7 separate regions of the Homo sapiens genome follow, and regions 1, 2, 4, 5, 6 and 7 are each linked to region 3. The links are contacts of gene promoters, found by promoter capture Hi-C in blood cells and fetal thymus (Javierre and others, 2016). All regions are on one chromosome and are shown on one strand. The core of a region is centred on a gene start or on the middle of the fragment in contact, and the rest is flanking DNA. Distances in the headings are between cores, read along the strand shown. Region 1 holds the start of LOC105378690 (a long non-coding RNA gene). Region 2 overlaps KIF2C (kinesin family member 2C). Region 3 holds the start of PRDX1 (peroxiredoxin 1). Region 4 holds the start of RPS8 (ribosomal protein S8). Region 5 overlaps EIF2B3 (eukaryotic translation initiation factor 2B subunit gamma). Region 6 overlaps ARMH1 (armadillo like helical domain containing 1). Region 7 holds the start of ARMH1 (armadillo like helical domain containing 1).

Region 1 (2,700 bases), core at 90-2,589, 800 kb after region 3:
TCTCCCCCCTGGAGCCAAGTGGAGTGGCTCTGAGCTTGACCCCAGGCGCCTTCCTCTTGCCAGGCTTCCCTGCCCCGCAGCCTTGGCCTTCCTGGTTTGCCACAGGGGCTGTTACTCCTTTGATTCTACATCCTCCTCGAAGTGTGTGAGGTAGGCCATCTGAGCCGAATCGCGCGAGCCATAGAGAGTGTTCATGCTGTAGGAGCTGCCATGGAGGCACAGGGCTGCAGGCAGGAAAGGCGGGCGTGAGGCTGTGCTGGCGGCGCCTGCGCCCGGCTTCCCTCGTCCCACACTCACCTTTGGTAACATTGACTGTGTTGGCCGCCAAGATGTCCGCCTGAATGCTGTCTATTTTCATGTACAAGTCCTCAGCGTTGCTCTGAGGACAGGAGCAAGGGGGACCCGGCTGGGGTGCCAGGGCAGTCTGGACTTGGAGTTGGGCTTGGCAGAGGGATGTTGCAGGTGGGGGGCGGGTCGGCAGCCTGACCGAAAGGGCAGGAAAGGGAACAGGAAGGTGGCGGGTGGAGGAGCCTACGCCAGAGCAGTCCCTCCTGCAGCTGGTGGCCAGGTCCACTCTGCATGTGGCGCGCTCCAGGATGGGGACTGTCTGAAGGGGCATCACACTGTCCGAGCCGCCATCTGCTCATTGCGGCGGGGCAGGAAGGGCGCACTTACCAGGAAGAGCTGGTAGAGTTCCTCCCCCATGCACTTGCGCACGTGCTCCGCCACCAAGGGGAACATCTGCACGAAGCACTGCGCCGCGCGGGCGAGGCGGCGTGACTGCGGGGGCGACGGGGCTGCGGGTGCCGCCGCCCTTCCCGCCCCCTAACCAGCCGCCGCGCGCACCTCCAGCGTGAGGCTGGCCAGCCGCTGGCTGTTGCTGTGGTCCGTGTTGCCCATGGCGGCCATTAGGCCACGCACCACGCGCAGGTACAGCAGCTCCTCGGCGATGCTCATGTCGTTGCGCGCCAGGACCCTGGGCCGGGGGTTCGGGCTGGGGCGACGCCCTGGGGCTCACCCGGCGCACACCCCCGCCCACCCGGCGCACGGAGCGCTCCCGGGGCCCGCCGGCAGCGCCAAGCCAGGCTTGCTGCAGCTACCCACTAACCCCTGCCCGCTTACCCGATGGCCTTGGCGGCCGCGGCCTGCTGCAAAAACATCGGCAGGCTGGGGGTGAGCTGGAGAACCGAGGGGTCTGAGGAGGGGGCAGCCGTGAGGCAAGAGACCGCCCTCCCGTGGCCCAGGCAGCCCCATTTGAGCAGGTCCTTACCACTGAGGATCTTGGCCTGCAGTTTGGAGATCTCCTTGACCGACGGTATCAGCAGCGCCACGAGGCCCTTGAGCAGCGCCTGGCGCACATCGTAACCGACCAGGTCTTTGATCAACTCGATGGCTGCGGAAGGGCAGAGGTGCTGGAGAGAGGCCCCAGGCCCCTCCGCCACCGAGGAAGCAAAGAACCCCGTGAACCAAGTCGCCACTCGTCAGTGTCCTCCTCTTTTACTGATCAGCACTGTGCAGGGCGTGGGGGAGCTGGGAAGGCGAACCTCAGTTGAAGAGCAGGAGGAGGGGGCTGAAGGGGGAGGAGGAAGGGTTGGATGGTGAGCCCACCTGTCGAGGCGGCCTAGGATGTCAGCGCTGGAGGCTGAGACCCCAGAGAGGGGGGCCTTCGCCTTGGAGGAATCCAGGTTTCATGGAGGAGGGAAGGGCTGGGTCTTTACGGGAAGACAAGATGGAGAAAGACAAGGGGTGAGAGGGAGACAGAGAAAGTGGGTGGGAGACTTGTGGCAGGAAATGAGAAAGGGGAAGGAAGGTAGGCGGCAGTTTAGAGAAACTCTCCTTCTAACCATCATCGAGCCCTCTCCACCAGGCAGGGTGCCAGGCTTTCCATACAGCACCCGTGGAAGCTCACCAGAACCAGATGAGGTTCACTTCCCCATTTTACCTTTGCCGAAATTAGACACAGAGAGGTAAACCACTTTGCCTAAGTTACACAGCTAGGAAGTGATGGAAGCAGAAGGAGGGGAGGATTTGGTTAGGAAGGAGAAGGGGACTAGAATTTATGGAGGGCATTTCCTGCAGGGCTTTCCTGTAGATATTTTACAGGCAGTCATTCATTCAGTCCAGCATTCACTCAGTCTTTCGGCACGGCTGCATGTGAACGCCTATGGTGCCAGGCGCGGCATTGGGTGTTGAGGATACAGACTGAATTCATTCATTCGACCAACCCTCCTTAAGCGTGCACAAACAGGCAGCGATGATATGGTGACAGGTGCTGTGGAAGGAGTCAGTGATTGGGCTGTGGGAGCACAAGAGAAAATCGGCAAGGATTGAATGTTTTTGTAAAGAAGAGAAAGGAACCACAGAGCTAGAGGGGGCAGGAGGAGAAGGAGATGCTAAGATGATGGCACACCAGCATAAATGCTACCTTTTTTTTTTTTTTGAGACAGAGCCTCACTCTGTCGCCCAGGCTGGAGTGCAGTGGCGCGATCTCGGCTCACTGCAACCTCCGCCTCCTGGGTTCAAGCAATTCTCCTGCCTCAGCCTCCCGAGTAGGCTGGGATTACAGGCGCCCGCCACCACACCCGGCTAATTTTTTTTTTTTTTTTTTTTTGTATTTTTAGTAGAGATGGGGTTTCACCATCTTGGCCAGGCTGGTCTTGAACTTCTGACCTCGTGATCCACGCGCCTCGGCCTCCCAAA
Region 2 (2,700 bases), core at 68-2,567, 780 kb after region 3:
AATCCAAATACATTTTTTCTTTTTTTTTTTTTTTGAGACAGAGTATCGCTCTGTCGCCCAGGCTGGAGGGCAGTGGTGCGATCTTGGTTCAATGCAACCTCTGCCTCCTGGGTCCAAGCAATTCTCCTGCCTCAGCCTCCTGAGTAGCTGGGACTACAGGCATGCGCCACCACGCCCAGCTAATTTTTGTATTTCCAGTAGAGACAGGGTTTCACCATGTTGGCCAGGATGGTCTCAAACTCCTGGCCTCAGGTGATCTCCCCACCTCGGCCTCCTAAAGTGCTGGGATTACAGGTGTGAGCCACTGTGCCTGGCCCCCCCGAGGCTGAGGCGGGAGAATTGCTGGAATCCAGGAGGCGGAGGTTGCATTGAGCTGAGATTGAGCCACTGCCCTCCAGCCTGGGCAACAGAGCAAGACTCTGTCTCAAAAAACAAAAAACAAACAAACAAACAAAAAAACAACATAGAAAAAATTAAATTTCTATAGACAGGGGTACCCCTAAATTCAAACTTTACCAACTTTAAGTTCCACTAAGTATGAATAGCTATAAAACAAATAGTTACTCCTTAATAATGGTTTACCATCTAGATGGATATGGGTTTCTGATTTCCAAGCCAATGGTAGACGTCAGTGATGAGAATGAGGTGAAGAGGAGGGCAGACAGGCAGGCAAACAGTCGGGTACTCCACAGCAGATCTAGGCCACTTGGCTCCCCTGCTGATCTGCTGGGCAGTGAGGTCCTGCTGGGCACAGCCCCCCAAGCACCTCTTGATGGCTGACACGGAGGAGGAAACAAGTTCTAACTGTCTGGTGAGAGTCAAATGGGGGCCCTTTAGGATCTTATGGGCAGGGGCAAGTTCCTGACAGCTGCTACCTAACCCTAAGACTACCTACATTTTCTTCTGGGCCCAGAAACTTCCCCAGTTACGGCTTCCTGCCCATGCCTTACCTATTTCCTGTTGATGCCTGCAATGAGGTCACAATTCTAAGTTTACATCATCAGAGTCCTGCAATTCTCCAGGAACAACTCAAACTTCACCAGGATAGCTTTACAACAGGTTCAGACATATTAAATTTGTCCCAACTTTGTATTTCAAAATGTGACAGAGCTGAAGCATGTACTCTAGGGTGAGGGCTTTACTGCCTAGAGATGAAACCTGCAGGACTGGGTGCGGTGGCTCACGCCTGTAACCCCAGCACTTTGGGAGGCCGAGGTGGGCGGATTACCTGACCTCAGGAGTTCAAGGCCAGCCTGGGCAACACGGTGAAACCCCTGTCTCTACTAAAATACAAAAAGTTGGCTGGGTGTGGCAGCGTGCACCTGTAATCCCAGCTACTCAGGAGCCTGAGGCAGGAGAATGGCGTGAACCCAGGAGGCGGAGCTTGCAGTGAGCCGAGATCCCGCCACTGCACTCCAGCCTGGGCGACACAGCGAGACTCCGTCTCAAAAAAAAAAGAAAAAGAAAAAAGAAATCTGCAGTTATTTGCTGCCTATTCAAACATTTGTTAGGCACCACGAAGACAGCAGCCTACAGGGGGAAGGTAGTCAAAGATGAATTAAGACATATATAGGCCGGGCGTGGTGGCTCACGTCTGTAATCCCAGCACTTTGGGAGGCTGAGACAGGCAGATCACCTGAGGTCGGGAGTTCAAGACCAGCCTGACCAACATGGAAAAACCCCGTCTCTACTAAAAATAAAAAATTAGCCAGGTGTGATGCATGCCTGTAATCTCAGCTACTCGGGAGGCTGAGGCAGAAGAATCGCTTGAACCCGGGAGGCGGAGGTTGCAGTAAGCCAAGATAGCGCCATCACACTCCAGCCTGGGCAACAAGAGCGAAACACTGTCTCAAAAAAAAAAAAAAAAAAAAAAAAAAGACATATACAACCCCTGCCACCATGAGCTCAATTTCTAATGGGGATTATAAGTCATATGTACAAAGGAAATCAAAGCAGAATGAGATTTAAATAAAAAAAAAAAAAGGAGGATAGAATCACTAAATGCAAAAGCTGGCAAGCACTTCAGTAATCACACTTCTATCCACACTTCTGGGACAGCCACAGACTCTTGGTACATACCTCCCCCATTTCTAACCCCTAAACTACAGAGAGCATAAACAACAAAGAAAACCAGAGGTTTTTTTTTTTTTTTGAGATGGAGTTTCACTCTTGGTGCCCAGGCTGGAGTGCAGTGGCATGATCTCGGCTCACTGGAACCTCCGCCTCCCAGGTTCAAGTGATTCTCCTGCCTCAGCCTCCTGAGTAGCTGAGATTACAGGCATGCGCCACCATGTCCAGCTAATTTTGTATTTTTAGTAGAGACAGGGTTTTACCACGTTGGCCAGGCTGGTCTTGAGCTCCTGACCTCAGGTGATCCGTCCACCTCAGCCTCCCAAAGTGCTGGGATTACAGGCATGAGCCACCACGCCCGGCCTTTTTTAGACGGAATCTCACTCTGTCGCCCAGGCTGCTGGAGTGCAATGGCGCGATCTCAGCTCGCTGCAACCTCCACCTCCCGGGTTCAAGCGATTCTTCCGCCTCAGCCTCCTGAGTAGCTGGGACTACAGGTGCGCACCACCACATCCGGCTAAGTTTTTGGATTTTTAGTAGAGATGCAGGTTCACTATATTGGCCAGGCTGGTCTTGAACTCCTGACCTCATGATCCGCCCGCTTCAGCTTCCCAGAGTGCTGGGATTACA
Region 3 (2,700 bases), core at 23-2,522:
TTATGTGGTGGACTCAGGGTAATCTAGTAGTAAGGTACTACTAGAAAGGTAGAAAGTAGTCTAGTAGAAAGGTAATCTAGTAGTGAACATTTATGGAATTTGTGGAATAGAGGCCAGGTGCGGTGGCTCGCGCTTACATTCCTAGCACTTTGGGAGGCCAAGGCGGGCGGATCACCTGAGGTCAGGCGTTGGAGACCAGCCTAGCCAACATGATGAAACCTCGTCTCTACTAAAAATACAAAAAATTAGCTGGGCGTGGTGGTGCGTGCTTGTAGTCCCAGACACTCCGGAGGTGAGGCGGGAGAATCGCTTGAGCCCGGGAGGTGGAGGTTGCAGTAAGCCAACACCGTGCCACTGCACTACAGCCTGGGCGACAGGGTGAGTGAGACTCCGTCTCAAAAAAATGTGGAATAGAACAAACTTTAGTTTTAGGAACTAGACTTTATATTGTAGATCTAGTTGCAATTGACACGTCCTTGTTTTATGGGAGGCTACATACTTTAAAGGTTTCCAGGGGAGCAAATAATTAATTATGATTTTGTGTATGTGTGTTTGTGGGGGGTAGTCATCAGGAAATGTCTGAGGCCTTTTGCCTTACCGTGTGGGTCTGGCTAATGTGTAATGTTTTGACTCAAGATTGTAAAGTCAAATTATTCATCCGGGGAGAGGATGGTCGTGTAACTGAATCAGCCTCCCAAGATGAACTTTCCCTCTGGCGTAAGTTTAGGAGTCCTGATATTTTATTTTCCTTTACAACAGAAAGCAGCAACCCTGTAATTAAAGAGAACAATGAAGGAAGCTATCTAAGCCATGAGGGTTACTGAGGATCTGCGCTGGGGTTAAGGCTGCGAACTTAAGAAATATTTGGATAGACAGTTCTCATGGCTTGGTGTGGTTAGACGTGGTCCTCCGTGGGCAGCAGCTAAGACGCTTACTCCAGTTTGGGCATTGAGGGCACAGTGCGTAGTGGTCCTGGAAGTAAAGAGAATCCTGGTTTTCCGCAGAGATCTAGGATTAACCTAAGCGTTCGGGTTCGGGAGCGGCCACAAGGGCGCCTCACTCCAACCTCAGCCATCCGCAACAGGGTGGGGTATTAGTATTTTTCCGCACCCGCCCCAACGAGGGAAAGCGCCGAGTCATTCCGGCGGGGCGCGCCGGGCGGGGCTCGGGCCACATCCCCCTCCTCTCTCTCCTCCTCCGGCACCCCCGTCCGTTCCGACTCTCGCGAGATCCCTACTGGCTATAAAGGCAGCGCCCCGGAGAGCTCTTGCGCGTCTTGTTCTTGCCTGGTGTCGGTGGTTAGTTTCTGCGACTTGTGTTGGGACTGGTGAGTGTGGGCAGTGCGGCCCCTGCGGAGTGAGGCGCGGCGCGCCCTTCTTGCCTGTTGCCTCTTCCTCCTCCTGTCCGGGGCCCGCCCGCGCTCGGGTGGGGGTGCTGTGATGCGTGAGGCAGCCGGGGGAGGCCCGGAGTCCGAGACTGCTTGAGCGCTGCGCACACCCCTCTCGTGGGCCCCCCACGTAGGTGCGGGAACCTGGTTGAACCCCAAGGCAAGCGTGGACTCGAGTCGAGTCTTCCCCCGGCAACTCGAGCACGTGGCGCGGCGTCTGGGCGGGCTGGTGGTGGGGGTCTCCGAGACTAGCCTCCTGCCGGACGGGGTGGGTTCGGGAAGCTTCTGGAATGGACCTGTATCCAGACTCGTGGCTGTAGAAGACAGCCTCTATGTATTTGGCTGTTCCGGGTCCTGAGCCTTGACTAGCTGCGGAGCTTCGGGTACCCTTTCCCCGTCTTTATTTTCCTGTACGTGGAATGGAGTTAGCGATGAGCCCAAATGTCCCCGCTGAAGCACTCTCTCTGCTGGTGCTTTCTCCAGTGCTGGGGAGGGACAGGGGGCACCTGAAGTGGGGTTTAGGGATGTGGCCCTCTACGCTGGGCAGATCCCCTGAAGGGGCCCGGTGGCGGCCTGAATCCCAGCAGCCTTTACCCCGAATTGGTTGGGTTTTGTACTTGGGGGCCACTTGGGAAAGAAGGATTGGACGAGAAGGCCATTTGGGGGCACCAAGTTGCAGCATGCCTTAGTTTTTGGTTTTTGTTTTTTGTCGTTAAAGGTGTTAAGGACTTTTTAAAAAACAGTTAAAAGTTTGCTAAGATCCATGCTTACAAAATTTCTTTTGCTTGTGGTATTGTGAACTAAGAACTTTGGGACTTGGAAAAGCTTTCAGACCGCGGCTTAGTGGGTTAAATCTCTGTTTTTTGAGCTAGAGTCTCGCTCTGTCGGCCAGGCTGGAGTGCAGTGGCGCGGTCTCGGCTTACTGCAACCCCTGTCTCCCGAATTCAAGCAATTCTTCTGCCTCAGCCTTAGGAGTAGCTGGGATTACAGGCTTGTGCCACCAAGCCCCGGCTAATTTTTGTATTTTTTTTTTTTTTTTTTTTTTGAGACGGAGTCTCGCTCTGTCGCCCAGGCTGGAGTGCAGTGGCTGGATCTCGGCTCACTGCAGCCTCCGCCTCCCGGGTTCACGCCATTCTCCTGCCTCAGCCTCCCGAGTAGCTGGGACTGCAGGCGCGTGCCACCACCCCCGGCTAATTTTTTGTATTTTTGTTAGAGACGGGGTTTCACTATGATGGCCAGGCTGGTCTCGAACTTCTGACCTCAGGTGATCTGCCTGCCTCGGCCTCCCAAAGTGCTGGGATTACAGGCTTGAG
Region 4 (2,700 bases), core at 71-2,570, 750 kb after region 3:
GTGAGCCACCGCGCCAGGCCCACTTGGTGAATCTTAAGACCGTTTAGGTGCGTTTTCCCACCCACTCCCAAAGGGCCTCACTCACACTCTGAGCCCCAGGAGAAATTCCCCACGTCCAACCTCAGGGCACGGTATTTCTTGTTACCTCCCCGCACACGGACTGTGTGGATGCGGCGGGGGCCAATCTGGAAAACACAAGGTTACAGGAACTAGGTTACCAAGGAGAGCAAGGCAAGTGAGGGAGAGGAACCTGGGCCGGGAGGAGGCAACAGTCAGTGTAACTATGACAAGTCCTTGCATTGGCAAGTGGCACACAGGTGACCAAGACGGCCACAACCACGCCTAAGGATTCTTTTTCATCACCCTACTTGCCTCCAAGAGGAAAGCCTGACCCCAAATGCTGAAAATTAAGCCTCTGTAAAAAAAACAAGACTAGGCTTCTGACTATGACGCGAGGCGCCACCCTCTCCAGAAGCTCAAGTCCCCACACAGTATCCTTCTCTCTGAAATCCTAAGCTCCAGGTTTGGGGGCCTGAGGGAGCATTCCCTCTTTGGTACTTACTTATCCAACAGCTAAAGGGGGACAGGACACCCAGGCCCTACTACAGAGAAATCAGAGCCCAAGAAAGAACGCACAACTGTCACACGGAAAGACCCGAGCACGCTGGAGAGCGGGGGAAGGCGACCTCCCAGGCGGACAGGCCCACGCTCGCACCCACCTTGGTGTTGGCAGCTGGGCGCCCCAACTCATACTTCCGCTTCTTGTGGTAGGGCTTTCTCTTGCCCCCGGTTTTGCGGCGCTTGTGCCAGTTGTCCCGAGAGATGCCTGCATGTGGAAGCGGGGAAGGAAGCTTGAGCCACTGTGACTCGGTGCTAGCGACTCGCCAGCTCCCGGAGACCCCCGCGCCGGGCCGGTCGCACGCTCAGCTCTCCAAGGTTGGCTTCCCCACCGCGCACTCGGGAGTATGCAGCATTACCGAGTTGTCATCATACACGTGCGGCCAGGCCGGGGCCTCCTCCTCGCGGCAGCCATGTTGGCGCCGCTCGGAGCCCGCAGCCCGCGGCCCGGAACCCGGAGCCCAGAGCCTTCGCAGCCCCCAGAGACGGGCTGGGCGGCCGAAACCCGAGGGCCACCACTCCTCGTGGCTGTCCCTGGCCGGGGGTCGGGGCGTCTGGACTCCTCAGTAGGCTGTGAAGCAGGATGGGGCCTGATTGAGCTCAACCTCCCTTCACCCGCCTCAATGCAGAGCGACACTCACCCATCGCTCGGCGCTGGCTGGAAAGAGAAACCGCAAAGATTCACGGTTCGGTTTGTAAAACGCTGCCCCGCCCCTTTACTTTACGTTGTTTCTGAGCGCCGAAACAACGTCGGGCGACGAGACTTACGTGTCAGCTGCCGCGCCTAGGGCCACGAGCCTAGGAGGGTCTCGCAGGCTGCTGACCTCTGCCGACCCCCGGCGACTCGCCTCCGACCCTGGGCTGGGGGAAGGGGGTCTGCGGCGTCGGCAGATCTGGGCGTGTTTAGACTAGTTTCAGAGGCTGCTGCGGTCGTTTAGGATGAGATGTGGGTGCGGCTGCGTTGAAAAAGAGTGGAAGGCAATGGAATTGGAAACGAGTGTGGACTTGGGTTTTGTTTTGAAGGGTTTGGTGGTAGATTGGACATGGGGATTGAGGGAGAGGGCGGTGTCAAGGATTCCTAAGATTGTCACTTGATCAATCGGATAAATATTGGGGCCATTTACTGAGATGGGGTAGGCTAAGGTAGGAGCTGTTCTGGACACGTTCATTTTGAGATCTTGCTAAGTCATGTTGAGTGGGACTAACAGATAGGAAGCTGAATATTAATGACTGGTCATCCTTATAAGGGATCTGCACCGAAGATGTTATTTTGGGAATCGTTGGCTTATAAATGGTAATTAAAGCCACCAGAATGAACGGAACTTAGGAAGAGAGTATAAAGGAGGGATCAGCTAACTTTTCTGAGCTAGAAGGATATCTATTTTTTAATTAAAAAAAATTTTTAGGCCTGGCGCGGTGGCTCACGCCTGTAATCTCAGCACTTTTGGGAGGCGGAGGCGGGCGGATCACGAGGTCAGGAGTTCGAGACCAGCCTGGCCAACATGGTGAAACCGCGTGTCTACTAAAAAAATACAAAATTTAGTTGAGCATGGTGACGCACACCTGTAATCCCAGCTACTCAGGGAGGCTGAGGCAGGAGAATCGCTTGAACCAGGGAGCTGGAGGTTGCAGTGAGCCGAGATCGCACCACTGCACTCCAGTCTGGCGACAGAGCGAAACTCCGTCTCAAAACAAAACAAACAAACAAAACAAAATTAGCCGGGCGTGGTGGCGGGCGCCTGTAATTCCAGCAACTCCGTCTGGAGGCTGAAGAAGGAGAATCACTTGAACCGGGAGGTGGAGGTTCCAGTGAGCCGAGATGGCACCAATGCACTCACTCCAGCCTGGGTGATGGAGTAAAACTCTGTCTCAAAAAAATAAAATACACAAGTTATTATTGATTATAGTCACCCTGTTTTGCTATCAAATAGTAGGTCTTATTTATGATGATATTTTATTTTTGTACCCATTAGCCATCCCCACCATCCCCACTTCCCCCTACCCTCCCACTACCCTTTCTAGCCTCTGGTAACCATCCTTCTACTCTCTAGGACCATGAGTTCAATTGTTTTGATTTTTAGA
Region 5 (2,700 bases), core at 6-2,505, 660 kb after region 3:
GGGAAAGGTAATTAAATTGCAGTCAAGTGAGACTTGATTACCCTGCTGCTATTATGTCTTGGCTAAGTGGCAGGGTAGGAGCATAAAATTGTTCAGAAGGGAGTTTCTCATATTCGTTATGTGCTTGTCTCTGCCAGCAGTGGTGGGCTGCTGAGGCTTGAAAGCTTGCTGAGGCTTTCTGGACACCTGCCCAAGGTCTTCAGGGCTTGAGGGATGCTAATAGGACCACCTTGGAGAAGGTGTAGGCGAGACTATTCAGAGAAAGCTCCTGCCCATCTTTCTCATGTTCTGGCATTTTATATGACAGCTGATGCTCAGGAATCCACAATGTAGTAAACACTTCATTGTCAAAGCTTGAGTGTCAGCCCTGTATTCTGCATGTTTGGTCCCCTGGTCCCAAGCAACCTCTCCTGCATTTCCCCCTAATCCAAGGCACATGACCCAAGCAGCAGTCTAGAGTAGCATCTTCACATGCTGACAGGCTAGAAAGCCAGGTTCTCACCTAGGTTTTCCATGCTTTTTGCAGTTAGCAAGTGTAGACCTCAGAGCCAGGTAAGAAATTACTACTTCTCATCATTACCCTGAGTGTACCCTTCACCTGCACTCAACTGACTGACTGCCCTGCCCACTGGGTTCCTTACATTCCTACTTCCCTTTATTTCTAACATTCACTCTGCCTGAATTGCCTCTCTTTGGAGCTCTTTCCTGTAAAAATCCTACCCATCTTGCAAGATCCAATGCATATTCCAACTCTTCCATGCAGCTTTCTTAAGATGTCATAGCCGGCCAGGCATGGTGGCTTACGCCTGTAATCCCAACACTTTGGGAGGCCAAGGCGGGCCAATCACCTGAGGTCAGGAGTTTGAGACCATCCTGGCCAACATGGTGAAACCCCGTCTCTACTAAAAATACAAAAATTAGCTGGGCGTGGTGGTGTGTGCCTGTAATTCTAGCTACTCAGGAGGCTGAGGCAGGAGAATCGCTTAAACCGGGGAGGCAGAGGTTGCAGTGAGCCGAGGTTGCACTATTGGACTCCGGACTGGATGACAGAGCGAGACTCCATCTAAAAAAAAAAAAAAATTGTCATAGCCATAAACTATTTTCCCCACCTCTGTGCTCCCTATGCACCCATAACACTTTATTCATGCTCACATGGTACTGTGGCACTTACTGCATCTTTCTTCCCTCTTCAACTAGACTATAAATGCCTTCAATATAGTTTTGTTTGTTTTTTTTTTTTTGAGACAGAATCTCATTCTGTCACCCCGGCTGGAGTGCAATGGCACAATCTCAGCTAACTGCAACCTCCACCTGCCAGGTTTAAGCAGTTCTCCAGCCTCAGCCTCCCGAGTAGCTGGGACTACGGGCACGTGCTACCATGCCCAGCTAATTGTTTGTATTTTTAGTAGAGATGGGGTTTCTCCATGCTGGCCAGGCTGGTCTCAAATTCCTGACCTCATTAGCCGCCCACCTCCAGCCTCCCAAAGTGCTGAGATTACAGGCGTGAGCCACCATGCCTGGCTAAATATAGAAATATTTTTATATGTCTTTATATCCCCTAACTTCTTAATACTGCACTTTTTACGTAGTAGATATCTTATAAGCATTTACTAAATGAAAAATGGAGATCTCTGATTTAACCCCTCTACTATAACTGGCTAAATATCTGTTAAGAGATCCCTCTCTGCTTCTAGAAAAAAATATTGTACATGATTATAGAGAGGGAGAAAAAAATAAATAAATAAAAATTTTAAAAGTTGGTACCAATGATGGCCAGGCTCAGTGGCTCATGCCTGTAATCTCAGCATTTTGGGAAGCTGAGGCGGGTAGATCACCTGAGTCAGGAGTTCGAGACCAGCCTGACCAACATGGAGAAACCCCATACAAAATTACTCGGGCGTGGTGGCGCATGCCTGTAATCCCAGCTACTTGGTTGGCTGAGGCAGGAGAATCACTTGAACCCCGGAAGGTGGAGGTTGCAGTGAGCCCAGTTCGCGCCATTGCACTCCAGCCTGAGCAACAAGAGCAAAACTCCATCTTGGAAAAAAAAAAAAAGTTGGTACCAATGTTACAAATACAGAAGAAAATTTGTGGATGAGTGCTTCATTCCTTAAAGCTCACCAAATTGAAAAAACAAAACCACAGAAGGAAGCTTTATCTATAATAAAATGAAATAACCTACTCATACCTATGCACAGACTACAGAATATCTGCCAGATACAGTGAAATTTAGATTAAATCCAAAGAGAACACCAAGATTCAACATAAAGAGAAGAAGGAATGGGAACATGGGTGAACCAAAGAAAAGACATCAAACATCCTTTTTTCAAAATACCAAGGCATGCAGAACTGAAAGAAAAACATCAGGCCACATAGAAGGGAGAAAATCAGGCTGGCTTCACACATTTCTTTTTTTTTTTTTAAGATGGAGTCTCGCTCTGTTGCCCAGGCTGGAGTGCAGTGACAATTTCAGCTCACTGCAACCTCCACCTCCCAGGTTCAAGCAATTCTCCTGCCTCAGCCTCCCAAGTAGCTGGGATTATAGGCGTGCGCCACCACACCCAGCTAATTTTTGTATTTTTAGTAGAGACAGGGTTTCACCATGTTGGATCAGGCTGGTCTTGAACTCTTGACCTCAAGTGATCCCCCTGCCTTGGCCTCCCAAAGTGCTGGGATTACAGGTGTAAGCCGCCACGCCCA
Region 6 (2,700 bases), core at 118-2,617, 820 kb after region 3:
CGTGTTAGCCAGGATGGTCTTGATCTCCTGACCTCGTGATCCGACTGCCTCTGCCTCCCAAAGTGCTGGGATTACAGGCGTGAGCCACCGCGCCTGGCCTAATTTTTGTATTTTTAGTAGAGAGGGGGTTTTGCCATGTTGGCCAGGCTGGTCTCAAATTCTGACCTCAGGTGATCCACTCGCCTTGGCCTCCCAAAGTGCTGGGATTACAGGTGTGAACCACTGCGTCTGGCCTTCAATTTTATTTCTTGAGTTATTCATAATTCAATTTCTTTTTTTTTTTTTTGAGATGGAGTTTCACTTTTGTTGCCCAGGCTGGAGTGCAATGGTGTGATCTCAACTCACCACAACCTCTGCCTCCTGTGTTCAAGCGATTCTCCTGCCTTAGCATCCCAAGTAGCTGGGATTACAGGCCCCGACCACTGCACCAGGCTAATTTTTTTGTATTTTTAGTAGAGACGGGGTTTCTCCATGTTGGTCAGGCTGGTCTCAAACTCCTGACCTCAGGTGATCTTCCTGCCTTGGCCTCCCAAAATGCTGGGATTACAGGTGTGAGCCACCGCGCCCGGCCTCATAACTCAATTTCACAAAAGATATTGGGCCACAGCTCAACAAATCTTTGAATGGATGCCTGAAAGAGGATATATTTAAAAAGGAGAAGTATTTCTAAAACCACTACTGAAAAATGTGAGCAAATGATGAATCAGGAGAATCATAAATCTGGGTCTTCCAGTGGTGACATGGACAGGAGCACAAAAAGCTTCCTGTTCAACCAGTTTCATGATGTGTTTTTCCTATAGCAGTGGTGGGTTCTGCCACCATGTCATTCAGGCCCCTAGGGAGACACATCTTGTCACACACAGTACCCACCATAGCTTTCACAAATGAGTTCCTTGTATGTCCTGCCAGAGTTCGCAATAACCTGAAGTAGTTTGACAGATTCCTTCTTGGCCTCCTCCTTGATCTTCTCTAGCCCAAGTATTTCCAAGAGGGTTAGGACACCTCCAACCTCAAGAAATTCTATAAGGTACCGATTACTGTCCAGAGGGATAGAAAAGTAGAAATAAAACTCTTGTCAAGTTCCTTTGCACTGAGCTTTCAAAGAGATCCCAAGGTCCCCTCTTTACATACTTTGCCCTCCTATCCAGGAAATGTCCATAGGTAAAGTGATACGAGTGTGGAAATTCTTCCTTCCAGCAGGAAAGACTGGAATTACATACTAGGGACAGTTCTTGGTTTTGCCATTCCAGCATCTCTTCTTCTTCTTGTAATACCACCTCAACTGTCACTTGGGGAATCACCCCTCTGCCACTCATGGGCCATGTAGTTTTGGTGGGGTGAGGAGGTGACAGGGTATGTCACCCTTCTGACTGCAGAAGTTCGTTTGGGGCTGGGCATGGGACCTAAATTGGTCCAATGAGGCTCAAAGCCTGGGACTTTCTTGGGAAGCTGTGGAAAGGATCTGCTCTGTTTTTGGTATGTCTAGAGCTCCTGAGGACCATGGCATACAGAGGTCTATGAACACAGAGGAGAAGAGACAGAAATGGGGGAAAAGACAGAGAAGGAGGCCAAGTACTGATGACATTGTTTGAGCCCTGGATCTAGTTAGGGCTGAAATATGTATTTCTACCCTCTGGGTTTTTCCAGTTAAGTGAGCCACTAATTTTCCTTTTTCTGAGTCCAATATGAGTTGGTTTTCTGTAATTCACAACCGAGAGGGTGCTGACTAGTGAAGCGCCACTGGAGAGAAAGGGATGGGGGAGCAACTAGAGCAGGAGCCCGGTGGACATTACCTCTGGGCCCATCCCAAGAGCTACAAGGAACCCACTGCTAACAGGAATCCGTGGCCCTGGGTGGTGTGAATGCCAAAGACATCATGAGCCTGAGATGCCACTGAGACCCCCAGAATCACGCTAGAACAGAACTCACCTGCTTACAGCTGATAAGAAGATGCCAATGGACCTGAGAAGCTTTTCTAAACATGAGTCAGTCATATAGCTGTATGACACGTTAAAGAGTGAGTTTCAGGGTGGTTTTTCACACAGAAGCCAGAGCCCGTGCCTGATCTCTGGTACCACCCCGGGCCCAGGGTGGCCAAGTAGCTGAACTGTGCCTCTTTACCCTGAGAGGAGCTACCAGCGGAAGGGGAAGTGGCAGTACACACAGGGTTGGGGGAAGAGGGTGCTGGCTGTTCACTGTTCTCCAGGAAGCTCCTCTGTGGCAGTTCAGCCACCTTGGCTCTTACAGGCTTTCTAGGGAACAAGGAGGCTCTGATGAATTAAGGGTCCCTGGAGAAGGCTGGGGGTCAATATCCCAAAGCTCTCTAAGCCATGCCCATTGCATCCTTGGTGTCAGCATAGTTCATGACTTTGTGCCTCATTCTTAGATTTCCCTAAAAAGAACCAGCTTCATCATTAATTCTCAATTTTTGTACTTGTTCAAAGTTTTACACTGGAGGTCACTATCCTTATGAAGAATTGGCTTCCTAATAAGAATAATAGGAGATGGTGGAAAAATTAAACTCTGATTTAAAACAACCTCAGTATTTAATGTTATTTTTTAATGTGAGTCTTTGCAAAAAGCCTCATTATAATAAAGTACCCAAAGCACGCATCAGCTCAGATACAAGGTATGAAATCAAGCCACAACAGAAAAGGAACCAGTCAACAATTACTAGGCTCATAACACATCAGAGGCTCT
Region 7 (2,700 bases), core at 171-2,670, 850 kb after region 3:
TGTATCCGCCTGGTAAAACCCAAACCTAGATCAATTAAACTAACCTCTGTGTACCCACCACTAGGTGGCTGAATGTTGTTGAGGGAAAAATGCATATTACACAACCTTGCAGACTGCTGCTTCCGAAAATTAATGGTCACTAACCTCGACAGGGCCATGATAACTGCCCAGAAATCTGTTTGCTACCTTAGTCATCTCACTGCCACTCTCCAGTGCTGCTATTTTAATCTTTCTCTGCTCTTTTCAATCTCGCACACCATCTCCAATCCCACTCTCACTGGCTGATATAATGTTCTTATTTGACAGAGAAAATGGAAACCATCGAAGAATTCCCTCAGCTTCCTGTCACCAAACCCACCAATTAACCTCAACGTAATGCTTCCCTTCTGCCACAAAACAAATGTTCCTCCACCCTTCTAAGTGAATTTCTTCACCAACACTTTGGTGAAGTCTTTTTTTCAAGGGCACCATTCTCAGTTATCTTCTTTCCCTTATAGTTTTATCTTTTTCCCCTTTGCTGGATCCACATCAACATTTCTTCCATCCGAATAAAAACCTGTGTTTCCTGCTGGATATTGCCTTCTTTTTTCTTCTCCTAAATAGCCAAGCTTTCTGAAAATGTATCTTACATGAATCTTCACTTCCTCAATCCCATCTGCTTCTCAAACCACTGTAATTTGACCTCTGCTCCCATCACTCCACTGAAACTGCACTTGTAAAGGTCACCAACAACTTCCTTGTTTCTAAATCCAGTGGATTCTTTCAGGCCTTATTTTACTTGATTAGTCATAAGCCTTCAACACTTTCCTTCCTTGGCTTCTGAAACACCACATACTACTACTGATCTTCTTACCATTTTGGACACTTCATCTTGATTACCTTTGCAGGTTCGTCCTCCTTTGCCAGACCCTCAAACTTGGGTGTTTCTCAGGGCTCTGTCCTAGGTCTCTTCTGACTCTACACTTACTCCCTGGGCAAGCTCAACAAATCTATTGGTGTGGCTGGCATCTATAAGGCCCCATAGACTCCCACACTGCAACTTCCAGTTAGACTTATCTGGCGAACTCCAGTTAGGCATATCCAATGGCCTTCTGGATACCTCCACTTGGATGTTCCATTGGCACCCCAAGCTCACCGTGCCCAGAACTGACCCTCTCCTAAAAACCCCTGCTTCCTCTCCTTCCTGTTTGCCCAAACCAGGAATCTAGAAGTCATCCTTCATTTCCCTTACTTCCCCCACACCCAATTAGTAACCAAGTCCATTTTTTTCTAGCTATAAGTGTCTAAGGAATTCATCCTGCCCTTTCCATTTCAGCTGCCACTCCATGCTTTGTGCCACCATAATCCTTCCCCACTACTGAAACAACCTCCTAACTGGTCTCCCTCCTTCTCCCAATCCTCAATCCAGTTCCTGCACTAATGTTTCTTTTTTTTTGAGACAGAGTCGCGCTCTGTCACCCAGGCTGGAGTGCAGTGGAGCAATCTCGGCTCACTGCCACCTCTACCTCCCAGGTTCAAGCCATTCTCCTGCCTCAGCCTCCCAAGTAGCTGGGATTACAGGTGTGCACCACCATGCCCGGCTAATTTTTGTATTTTTAGTAGAGATGGGGTTTCGCCATGTTGGCCAGGCTGGTCTCGAACTCCTGACCTGAAGTGATACGCCCGCCTCAGCCTCCCAAAGTGCTGGGATTACAGGGGTGAGACACCACACTGGGCTCTTTGTTTTGTTTTTTGAGACAGGGTCTCACTCTGTCACCCAGGCTGGAGTGCAGTGGCACAATCATGGCTTACTGCAGCTTTGACCTCCTGACTCAAGTGATCCTCCCACCTCAGCTTTCCAAGTAGCTGGGACTTCAGGCATGCGCTACCATGCCTGGCTAATTTTTAAAATTTTAATTTTGTAGAGATGAAGGTCTCACTATGTTGCCCAGGCTGGTCTTGAACTCCTTCAAGCCATTCTCCCGTCTTGGCCTTCCAAAGTGCTGGGATTACGAGTTTGAGCCACCGCGCCTGGCATGCAAAGAGTCTTTCCCCCTCCCTATCTCTAAAAGTCTTTCAAGGCCCAGCTCAAGAGCCAACCCCACTGCCATAAATGCCCCTTCTCTGATTCTGAGCTCCTCAAATCCTTACTCTTCTGTAGTATTTATCTCACACGCAGAATCAGAGTTGCTTCATGCATGGTTTCTCTCCCTCTCCCGTTAAGACATGGGAGAGGGAGGGCCAAAAGCTTGATTCTCACTAGGGCCTAAGGAACCTTATTTAGCCCACCCAGTCTCTGGCACATAGTATGTAAATATGCTGGCACATAGTATGTAAATATAGATAAATGCAAGAAAGTTGCACTCCCAGCTCCTCGGTGGGCCCTATCAACAGGGCATTCTCTAAAGTCATCAACTGAAGACTGCTTCCCATCCACCCATCCATCCATCCATCCATCCATCCATCCAGAATATGCCTCAACCCCACTGGGTGGAGGTTGGGTCGGCACGCGCCCCCTAGGCCGTTTTGTACGGTTTTATACCTCCAGCCCTCGCAGTTGCGGCTGGTAGAGGATGGCAGAGGTAGGTAGACGATGCAAGTCAAAGGGCACACTCTTCCGCCGCGTAGGATAGGACTCTGTTCGGACGAGTGACCCTGCCCATTCCCAGAATACAGCAACTCTTCAGCCGCCTCTCACCTACATGAGAGGGTGGGGACTCT

The links. The method cuts DNA at HindIII sites, captures the fragments that hold promoters and counts their contacts. A CHiCAGO score of 5 or more calls a contact.
Region 1: a fragment that was not itself captured here is called in contact with the fragment with the promoter of PRDX1 in region 3 in 3 of 17 cell types (M0 macrophages, activated CD4 T cells and erythroblasts); the score reaches 8.1 in M0 macrophages.
Region 2: a fragment that was not itself captured here is called in contact with the fragment with the promoter of PRDX1 in region 3 in 5 of 17 cell types (activated CD4 T cells, naive CD8 T cells, naive CD4 T cells and 2 more); the score reaches 8.2 in activated CD4 T cells.
Region 4: a contact is called between the fragment with the promoter of RPS8 here and the fragment with the promoter of PRDX1 in region 3, in 2 of 17 cell types (non-activated CD4 T cells and total CD4 T cells). The highest score is 7.2, in non-activated CD4 T cells.
Region 5: a contact is called between a fragment that was not itself captured here and the fragment with the promoter of PRDX1 in region 3, in 1 of 17 cell types (naive CD4 T cells). The highest score is 5.8, in naive CD4 T cells.
Region 6: a contact is called between a fragment that was not itself captured here and the fragment with the promoter of PRDX1 in region 3, in 3 of 17 cell types (activated CD4 T cells, total CD4 T cells and total B cells). The highest score is 7.6, in activated CD4 T cells.
Region 7: a fragment that was not itself captured here is called in contact with the fragment with the promoter of PRDX1 in region 3 in 1 of 17 cell types (M0 macrophages); the score reaches 8.5 in M0 macrophages.

The regions. Positions count from the first base shown.
Region 1 is chr1:44,722,815-44,725,514 of GRCh38, reverse strand. It overlaps ARMH1 (armadillo like helical domain containing 1), which reads right to left. Exons shown (of 12, transcript NM_001145636.2): 7 at 1,271-1,393; 8 at 1,123-1,195; 9 at 847-976; 10 at 676-753; 11 at 298-379; 12 at 1-224. The coding sequence ends at 112. It overlaps LOC105378690 (a long non-coding RNA gene), which reads left to right and starts at 1,396. Exons shown (of 5, transcript XR_007066059.1): 1 at 1,396-1,480. RefSeq lists a silencer at 1,784-2,078. The HindIII fragment of the contact is 4,387 bases long and covers 1-2,700 here.
Region 2 is chr1:44,744,642-44,747,341 of GRCh38, reverse strand. All of the region lies in intron 2 of KIF2C (kinesin family member 2C), which reads right to left. Among named protein-coding and RNA genes, the nearest start is that of KIF2C, 6.2 kb to the right of the region's middle. The HindIII fragment of the contact is 4,417 bases long and covers 1-2,700 here.
Region 3 is chr1:45,520,456-45,523,155 of GRCh38, reverse strand. PRDX1 (peroxiredoxin 1) reads left to right here and starts at 1,272. Exons shown (of 6, transcript NM_181697.3): 1 at 1,272-1,327. RefSeq lists an enhancer at 794-873 and a silencer at 1,916-2,078. The HindIII fragment of the contact is 8,348 bases long and covers 1-1,671 here.
Region 4 is chr1:44,774,160-44,776,859 of GRCh38, reverse strand. It overlaps RPS8 (ribosomal protein S8), which reads right to left and starts at 1,320. Exons shown (of 6, transcript NM_001012.2): 1 at 1,260-1,320; 2 at 720-826; 3 at 86-185. The coding sequence starts at 1,263. It overlaps SNORD55 (small nucleolar RNA, C/D box 55), which reads right to left and starts at 995; the gene lies at 922-995. SNORD46 (small nucleolar RNA, C/D box 46) reads right to left here and starts at 368; the gene lies at 271-368. RefSeq lists an enhancer at 697-986 and a silencer at 1,067-1,276. The HindIII fragment of the contact is 3,101 bases long and covers 854-2,700 here.
Region 5 is chr1:44,864,939-44,867,638 of GRCh38, reverse strand. All of the region lies in intron 10 of EIF2B3 (eukaryotic translation initiation factor 2B subunit gamma), which reads left to right. Among named protein-coding and RNA genes, the nearest start is that of PTCH2, 23 kb to the right of the region's middle. The HindIII fragment of the contact is 1,799 bases long and covers 356-2,154 here.
Region 6 is chr1:44,696,400-44,699,099 of GRCh38, reverse strand. ARMH1 (armadillo like helical domain containing 1) reads right to left here. Exons shown (of 12, transcript NM_001145636.2): 3 at 1,930-1,998; 4 at 871-1,037. The region is part of intron 4 of LOC105378690 (a long non-coding RNA gene); the gene reads left to right. Among named protein-coding and RNA genes, the nearest start is that of ARMH1, 23 kb to the right of the region's middle. The HindIII fragment of the contact is 1,210 bases long and covers 763-1,972 here.
Region 7 is chr1:44,674,695-44,677,394 of GRCh38, reverse strand. ARMH1 (armadillo like helical domain containing 1) reads right to left here and starts at 2,681. Exons shown (of 12, transcript NM_001145636.2): 1 at 2,522-2,681. The HindIII fragment of the contact is 1,619 bases long and covers 611-2,229 here.